Linked DNA regions of Homo sapiens: all the other regions are linked to region 1. The links are contacts of gene promoters, found by promoter capture Hi-C in blood cells and fetal thymus (Javierre and others, 2016). All regions are on one chromosome and are shown on one strand. Each heading gives the region's core, a stretch centred on a gene start or on the middle of the fragment in contact. The rest is flanking DNA. Distances are from core to core; before and after follow the strand shown. Region 1 holds the start of HAUS7 (HAUS augmin like complex subunit 7). Region 2 has its middle 18 kb from the start of PNMA3. Region 3 overlaps ZNF185 (zinc finger protein 185 with LIM domain).

The links. The method cuts DNA at HindIII sites, captures the fragments that hold promoters and counts their contacts. A CHiCAGO score of 5 or more calls a contact.
Region 2: a contact is called between a fragment that was not itself captured here and the fragment with the promoter of HAUS7 in region 1, in 5 of 17 cell types (M1 macrophages, endothelial precursors, M2 macrophages and 2 more). The highest score is 7.6, in M1 macrophages.
Region 3: a fragment that was not itself captured here is called in contact with the fragment with the promoter of HAUS7 in region 1 in 4 of 17 cell types (non-activated CD4 T cells, monocytes, naive CD4 T cells and 1 more); the score reaches 7.0 in non-activated CD4 T cells.

The regions. Positions count from the first base shown.
Region 1 is chrX:153,469,299-153,471,998 of GRCh38, reverse strand. It overlaps HAUS7 (HAUS augmin like complex subunit 7), which reads left to right and starts at 1,423. Exons shown (of 10, transcript NM_001385482.1): 1 at 1,423-1,549. The coding sequence starts at 1,442. RefSeq lists enhancers at 894-1,188, 1,702-1,801, 1,952-2,131 and a silencer at 1,062-1,371. The HindIII fragment of the contact is 16,714 bases long and covers 1-2,700 here.
Region 2 is chrX:153,037,216-153,040,165 of GRCh38, reverse strand. No RefSeq gene overlaps it. Among named protein-coding and RNA genes, the nearest start is that of PNMA3, 18 kb to the left of the region's middle. The HindIII fragment of the contact is 2,461 bases long and covers 429-2,889 here.
Region 3 is chrX:152,961,384-152,964,206 of GRCh38, reverse strand. ZNF185 (zinc finger protein 185 with LIM domain) reads right to left here. Exons shown (of 25, transcript NM_001395254.1): 20 at 258-368. Among named protein-coding and RNA genes, the nearest start is that of PNMA5, 31 kb to the left of the region's middle. The HindIII fragment of the contact is 1,707 bases long and covers 475-2,181 here.

The DNA of each region.
Region 1 (2,700 bases), core at 174-2,673:
TTCTAAAAAGAAAGAAAGAAAAACAAAAACAAAAAAGAGGGAAAAAAACGCTTAAAAAAAAATCCCAAAGCCTTTGACAGCCCTCAGCTACCAGAAGGGCCTGAGGCAGCAGCCACGTGGAAGGGTAGAGAGCAACCTTGAGGCACTTCGCTGGGCCTGTGTCGGGGCCTCCCAGGCTGAGGTCCCTTCCTGTGACCCCCGGACTCCTGCCCGCTCCCTCCTCCCAGGACGGAGTGAAGTCCCCTCCTGTCACTTGGATGACTGCAGTTGCCTCCCAGCAGGTCCCTGGGTCTCCCTGACTATAGACTTGCCCCCTGATCCCACCCTCCAGGAGATGGCAGGGTAGGGCACAGAGGAGGGCACAGTGGCAGCTGCCTGCTGCTGTCTCCTGGCTACTGGGCACAAGCCACCCTCCAACTCCTTCCTGCCTTGCCCAATCAGCAGGTCCCTGGGTAAGGGGCATTCAGTGAACTGGGGGCTTTGCAGGTCTGGGGGAGGAGCGACTGACATATTTCATTGCAGACGCATTGAGTTTGAGGGTCCTGAGGGATGTAGAAAAATTTGTTAAGTAGACAGGATAGGAAGGAGCCACAGGTAGCCCCAGGAGCCGTGAGGGGAGCAGGGCCCAGCATGTATTACAATAGTGAGCATTTACGTGGTTCTTCGCATGCGCCGGGCACTGTTCTAGGGATTCCACAGGAATTATTACCGCCTGCCATCCTCATTAGCAACCCAGTGGGTAAGGTGCTCTCATTAGCTCCATTAGGTGAGGGCAAAGAGGCACAGAGAGGTTAGGTAACTGGTTCAAAGGCACACAGCTGGTGAGTGACAAGAAATTTCCTTCTAACTACAGCGTGAGCATGGTGAAGAGAAGACGGAGCCCCGCGCTGGGAGAGGAACGCTTCAGTCCGAGTTCCATTCTGCACCCAAGGCTCCCCTTGGTCCTCCTGGGAACCAGGGTGCCCCTTAGTGGTGGTGGCCCAGGAGAACCCGACCAAGGCAGGAGCGCCCCCTCCTGGAAGAGCCTCGCTTCAACGCATCATCATTCCCGGCCGGCAGCAGGGGCGACGCCAGCAAGGCCTGCGACTCAGAGCCAGCTTGGCCCGTTCGCCCCGCCCCTTCCCGGTGTCCGCCCCGCCCCTTTCCCGGTGTCCGCCCCGCCTCCTTCCCGGTGTCCGCCCCGCCCCCTTCCCTGTGTCCGCCCCGCCCCCTTCCCTGTGTCCGCCCTGCCCGCTTCACTGTGGTCCTGCCTCTGGGTGGTGCCGGGGCGGGGGGTGGGAGCCCGGGGCCCGCGCAGGCGGAGATGTCGCCCAATGGGAAGGGTCGGTCGGGAAGGGGGTGGGCGCAGGCGGGTGGGCGGGAAGAACGCTGGAGGTTGATTGGCGGTCTTGCCGGCCAGTGAAGCCAGGGCATGGGCGGGGCGCGGCTCGGAGCGCGAAACATGGCGGGGCAGGACGCTGGCTGCGGCCGTGGCGGCGACGACTACTCAGAGGACGAGGGCGACAGCAGCGTGTCCAGGGCGGCTGTGGAGGTGTTCGGGAAGCTGAAGGTGCTGTTGGCCCAGAAAGCCACTCCAGGGCGGGGGACCGGGGAGGGCCCCGCCCGAGGCCCGGGAGGGCTTGCTGCGGAAGTCCGCGGCGCCACGCGGCCACCGTCGCCGGTTCCGGCTGCGCCCTGTTCCCTTGCAGCAGGGGGTGCTTGTGGATCATTCATCTTTGCCCTTTGGTGTGCCCCAGGCCTTCGTTCTTGCTGTCTCCACGGCCCGTGCCTGGTAGTTGGGGCCAGCACCGCCTGTGGAACTGCAGTACCCGCGCTGGGCGCTCGGAGCAAGTGCAGACACAGAGGACCCAGGCCTGGCCTTAGGGATCTTGCGGGGTCTGGGGGGACAGATGGGCAGAGCCTCGTGCCACTCTGTCAAGTCAGCGAGACTAGGGCTTGGTGTCAGTTGGTGTCAGATGCCAGGGGTGATAGCCTCCAGAAGCCCTCTACAGCCCCACAGGACAGAGCCCTCACTGCAGCAGTGAGGAAAGCTGGCCCACGAGGTTAGGGAGCTGTCCCAGGTCCCCTCGGCCCGCTCGCTCCTCCCCCCAGACACTCCCCCATCCTGTCCGCGACTGGCTCAGTGGTCCCTCTCCCTTTCCCTCTCCCCTTTCCCTCAGTCCCGAAACCTAGGACTCTCTCTTAAGTCTTAGTCTCAGGCGTTGCTCCTAGGTCCTGCTGCCACAAGAGCCCAGAGTGGGAGTACTTGAAAGAGGTGGGGTCTGCATGCCGCGGGAGATGTGGGGTTAAGAATGGGGGGACTTGAACTCTTGGCAAGATGGCAGGACGCGGGTAAAGGAAAGGGTCCTGGGAGCTTGCAGATGTACACTGAGGACTGGGCGCGGCGGCCCACGCCTGTAATCCCACCACTTTGGGAGGCTGAGGTGGGCAGATACCTGAGGTCAGGAGTTTGACACCAGCCTGGCCAACATGGTGAAACTCCGTCTCTATTAAAAATACAAAAATTGTCCGGGCGTGGTGGCGCATGCCTGTAATCCCCCAGCTACCCTGGGAGCTGAGGCAGGAGAATTGCTGGAACCCAGGAGGTGGAGGCTGCAGTGAGCCGAGATCATGCCACTGCACTCCATCCAGGCTGGGCGACAGAGTGAGACTCCGTCTCAAAAATAAATAAATAAATAAAATGAAATGATGTACACTGGG
Region 2 (2,950 bases), core at 410-2,909, 430 kb after region 1:
GCACACACCACCACGCCCAGCTAATTTTTTGTATTTTAGTAGAGACAGGGTTTCACCACATTGCCCTGGGTGGTCTTGAACTCCCGAGCTCAGGCAATCTGCCCACCTCGGCCTCCCAGAATGCTGGGATTACAGGCATGAGCCACCGCACCCAGCCTGATTATTTTTAAAACATCCCAAATAAGCAGTTTTTTAGCCATTTAAAGCCTGCTTGCTTTGCATATGCAGAGACTCTCCAACGTGGTACCGATTGACCTCACCCAGACACATAAGCTCCCTCTTTGTTCCTCCTCTGCCCTGTGAGTCCCTTTGCCTTCCTTCCCTTCCAGGTGGTGGCCTCTTAGCCCATCCATAAACCTCTGGATAGTCTTGTGCTGTGAGGACTTTCCCTCTTATGCAACCCTGTCCAAGTGCCACCGAATAAAGCTTGTTGTGTTACTGCCCCTTGCAGTCATATCTTTTTCCTTGATCAGCCCTCAAATTCCTTCAACAAACTCCCTGAGTTTACTAAATGATGGCAAAGCCCATTCAGCAAACACCATTCCATCGAGGCTATTGAAGAGATTAAACATGTCAGAGGTTATTTTTAAAGGAAATTTTTAGGAGCAAAGAGTGCTTTGGCTTTTCTCCTACCCTCCCCAGGAGGGAGGATAAGGAGGCGCTGTCTCTAAAACCAAATCAAATGCATCAGTTCAGGTCCTCCAGGAAGTCAAGATGGAGTTAGAAGTGCAAAAAAATTATCACAGAAGATAAAGGGGAGAGGACACAGAAAGAGGCAGGAAGAACCTTCAGACCACAGGGCGGGTCTAACACAAGTGGAAAGAGAGGGAGAAGGAAGGATTGGAAGGAAGAGTCTCAGACAGTGGTGCAGCTTTCAAAAAGTCTTGGCCAGCCCAACGGGGAGCTCTGATGCAAAGATGGCCCATAGAGGAGTCCCACACTGAGCAAAAATGACCCTAGTACCCTGCTGTGCTAAGCCTCTGATAGGGAGCTGCCTGGAACTAGCATGGTCTCACCTCAAATGCTGCCTTGGACCCTGAAGACATTCCACCTGAATGCTGTCAACTAATTGCACTCCTCATAACAGGCCCTCTCTTAAAGTGACATCCAAGCAGTGCACTTCCATAGCTGCCACAGGCCATCCTTTGTGCCACACAGATCCACTACTCCATAGCTGCTCGGGAAGCAGTTCCTCCTTGGCTCCTGTGGGCCACTCTTTCTGAAGGTAAACTTAGAAGTTGGCAGTCGGGTGCGGTGGCTCATGCCTGTAATCCCAGCACTTTGGGAGGCCGAGGTGGGCAGATCACGAGGTCAGGAGATCAAGACCATCCTGGCTAACACGGTGAAATCCCGTCCCTACTAAAAATACAAAAAAAAAAAAAAAATTTAGCCAGGCATGGTGGCAGGCCTGTAGTCCCAGCTACTCGGGAGGCTGAGGCAGGAGAATGGTGTGAACCTGAGAGGCAGAGCTTGCAGTGAGCAGAGATCGCACCACTGCACTCCAGCCTGGGTGACAGAGTGAGACTCTGTCTCAAAAAAAAAAAAAAAAAAGAAAAAGAAGAAGAGAGAAGTTGGCGGGACAAAGTACAAGCCCCATCAGTGCAGTTGGTCCTGCAACTGCAACAGGTATTTATGATTACCCTCTTCCACTATCCATTCTAGATTTCCCTCACCCTCAACTATAACCTCTGCAGTTTTGGCAGCTTCCTTCATCCCTGAGTGGTCTGAGTCCCTCGTATCCATACCCTTCTTAGGCCACTCACACTGTACTTGATCACTTACAGCCAATGAGGCAAAAGAGTACCAAAAGTCACTAGAAAAGATCATCTGAGTCCCGAGCATATTCCTCTCTGCCTCTATTATATAACAGCAGTCTTACCTCTTCCTTGATAATTCTCTATTACTCCCACCACCATGATGATTCTTCCTGCTTGCTGGTGTCTGGAATCAAGGAACCCCAAAATGCCAGGCAGCAGTGGTGGCTATAAGTACAACTGGAACCCAGGCTGTATGTCCTGATAAGAGTGCAAAGAACCAGAACCTCTACCCTGCAGAGCCTAGATTTAAGGAGATGGGAAGCACAATGTTGGCCCCTGAGTAGGTCACTGGGAAAGATGGAAAGTGAGGCCACTTTGGCCTCCACCCTATGGCTTCCAGACCCATGTATTCTTCCTACTGGGGACACAGTGCCACATGGACATCTCTGACACAGTGCATATACTGCATCCTGGAGGATGGCGCCTCATCCTTGTAGGGTATTGCCTCTAAGCCTGTGCTCCAGCTACACCTCCAGAAGGCCATTCCAACACTCTATCAAGCTAGTAGCTTCTGGGTGGCACAGTGTGACACCAGACTATCCCATGCTCATGGGCTCATGCACATACCTCCTTCACTCTGAAGTGTGTCCCTTGGTAGGATACCTTCTTGTGTGGGATTCCAGGTCTGCAGGTCATGCACTCTGAAAGCCCCTGGATAGTGATGTTAGCTGAAGTTCTGCCAGGAGGAAAGGAAAACCCATACTCAGAATAGGTTTCTGTCCTTGTAAGAAAGAATGGATGTCTCTTCTAAGAGATAATGGACCCAACATGGAGAAATGGTGCCATATTGGGGTCTCAGCATTGGTCTCTTTCACTGGAAGACTGGACCTTCAGAGCTAGTAGCAGCAATAAAGGCCTTGTTAAGTAGGATTCCATGCTTCTGGGCCCGTGAGCAGTCTCCATCTCTCACACTGTGGCCCATCTGTTTATGTGCCCATTGTGTCAGTTCTGGACTGGCTGATGGTGAAGGGTGGCTAATATCCAACTTGCTGAGTCATTTTGTGCACTTGACAGTTCAGCTCCTCTTCTACTGTTGATGCTTTCTGGTGGGCACTTGTATGTGACGTAAGCTTTTCCTTCATGCTCACTCCCATGTTTATCCATATGCCTCTACCCCAGACTTCCTTGTCTCC
Region 3 (2,823 bases), core at 79-2,578, 510 kb after region 1:
CCACTAGTGCACTAGGAAGTACCACTGCAGCCTCTTACAGAGATAGGAAAAAGGAGGTGTGGGAATGTCTAGGCCCGGTAGATGGGAGTTTATATTAGGGGACTAACACTGTCCTGTGTGGCCCCTTGGCTAATGGCCTGCTAGAAACTGGGGAAGGCACTAAATGGGAAGCAACATGGAACAAAAGCCAAGTCCTTTACCGCCAAGGAGGAAGTGGCGGAGGAACATCTCCCAGGTTGCTAGATAGCCCTTCTTACGTGGTAGAGCTGGAGTCCAATTCACTTGCGGGGGCTGGAATATAAATGTGAGGCTGCTCAGATGTGGCAGTGACAGTAACAGTGACCATGCAGCTCGAGGGGCTCCTCACCCTGAAAGAAATAAAGGGAGGGGTGGGCACGTCAACCTGGGAGCTGACACCTTCCAGGGTCAAACAGGCTTTTCTGAGCCTAACCCTTGAGCACTGCTCTTGAAGCTTCCTCCAAGACCAACAAATGGAACTTCTCACTTTACAGATAAGCAAACCCAGGCTAGGTGAGTTGAGACATGTCCCAGGTCACATCGTGAGTCAGTAGCAAGACCCCAATCTTCCAGTGTCCACTCAGTACTCCTGACTGCAGCCAAGGGCCTTGGCCTCTGTGATTCACTCAGTTAGAGTGGAATCATGGGGCTCCCGGGGATGTGACAGTCAGGAGGGTGCAGAAGGGGAAGACACAGCCCAGCTCACCTCCTCACTGGATGGGACGGTCCCTTACTAGGATCAGCTCCTTCTGCCACCCTGCAGGGAACTCTCTAGAGAACACAAGGCCAAGGGGCAGAGGACCAAATGAAATTAGGCATCATTGAGGAGGAAAGTCAGATGCACCTCATTCCCAGCAGAGGCGGGAAACTGACCGGTGTCGAAGTTTTTCTGAACCTCCACACTTCAGCTGCCAGATATGGCCCTTGGCCTGGAATCCAACCTCCTCGGCAGCCCAAAAGGGCTTTTCTCTGGCCAAGCCAATATCGGCTCTCACTCTGCCTGCCCCCAGGCTATGAGCCTCATTACCAAAGCTGCCGTAGCTGTCAACTGCAGTTCAGGGCACGATGTTGGGCAGCACCACTGACCACTTGTTTGCACCTTCCAACTTAAGTCTGCTCACCCTCCAAAGGCCTGAGGCCAGCACTATGGGTGCACACTGCCCTGGGCTGATTCTGGCTTTTCTCCAACATGCTGTGGCTCAGATCATACTCCAGATATGGCTGCCTCCATCTGGCCCAGGCTACTGGGTATTGTCCCCTTGCCAGAGAATCCAATGCCTAAGATTACAACTAGTTGAAGAGTGGGGAAAGGGAAGAACAATCATGGTCTAGCATCTGCCTAGCTCTCTCGCCTCATAGTCTCAAACTGTATCACGTGCCACTCAAGCCGTACAGACCAGCCTGCAGTTCCCCTGGACTTCCAGGCTCTCATATGCCTTTGCAGACAATATCACCTCCTCTGGGAAGCCCTTCCTGAGGGCCTGCCCTCCTACCTCACCTCAGTGTACCCAATCATCCTGTACCTGTTCCTGCTTCACCCTATGACAAAGAAATATACCATAGAGACTGGAGAAGGTGGACTGGATGGGAGAGGAGGCCCCACAAAAATCTGAAAAGATACACGGGGGATAAAATGCAGAGCCAACAAGTGAGAAAAGGATTGATTCTAAGAGGAAGGAAGGAAGACCTCCTACTGACTGAACAACTACCAGGTGTCTGGTATCCTGTGATCCATGTCAGCAGAATACTGAAGGGGACGGCGCAACTGAAGAGGCAAGGTAAAACAGAAATTCCCTGGAGCTACTTGGGAAGCTGAGGCAGGAAGATCACTTGAGGCCAGGAATTCAAAAACAACCTGGGTAACACAGTGAAACACCGCCTCTTAAAAAAAAGAAAAAATGCCCTGGGCATCCCCCCAGGACTGCAATGTGAGCAATAGGAGCCCTCCCAATAGCCTCCTCTCCCTCACCTACAAGACCCTACAGGGCCCAGCTCCTGCCCCCTGCTCACCTCACCCCGTACCCTCCAAGCACAGGGCTCATTGTTCAGGCCCTCCTCCCTATCTTCTTTGTCCACAATGCCTCTCCCCAGGTTCTTTGGAAGGCAGGCTCCTCCAGATGTTTCAGGTCTCAGCCGAACTGTCTCCTCCTCGATAGAAAAGCTTTCCCTAACCATCCTTGCTCTAACCCCTCTCCATCAGAGCACCTGGTTTCTTTCCTTCCTGGGCTTATCACAAATGGAGGGGCAGTATGGATGCCACAGCGATGAACAGTACAGGCTCTGATCTCTGTCTGGATTCTAATCTCGGTTAGGCCACTTCCTGGCTGCAAAACTGCCAGCAAATTACTTAACCTCCATCTGCCTCAGTTTCTCCATAATAAAAGCACCTCCTTGAGTTGGTGTGAGAATTAAATGAGTGAGTCCACATAAGGCATGCAGAACAGTGCCTGCACATTCTCAGCACACAGCAGGTGCTAATGGTTATTACGATCATGCTTATTCCTTAGTGGACTATGTGCTCTTTGAGGGCGGCTGGATGGGGCCTTAGCCATCGTGTTCACTGTGTACATGGCTGCTCACAGGAGGCTCTTAGTATGCAGCATCTCTAGCCGGCGGCCCATGGCTCCTGGTTATTCCCAAACTCATGGCCACTTTGGGAAAAAAAAATCTCTGGGGAACAAAGGGAGCTCTCAAAAGACACGTGCACCTTCTTTCACCATCATCAACTGCAGCTCCAGGCAGTGATAAAGCAAGGACCTCTGGCCTCACACAGAAAAGGACCAGAGGGAAACTGAGGCTGGCTGC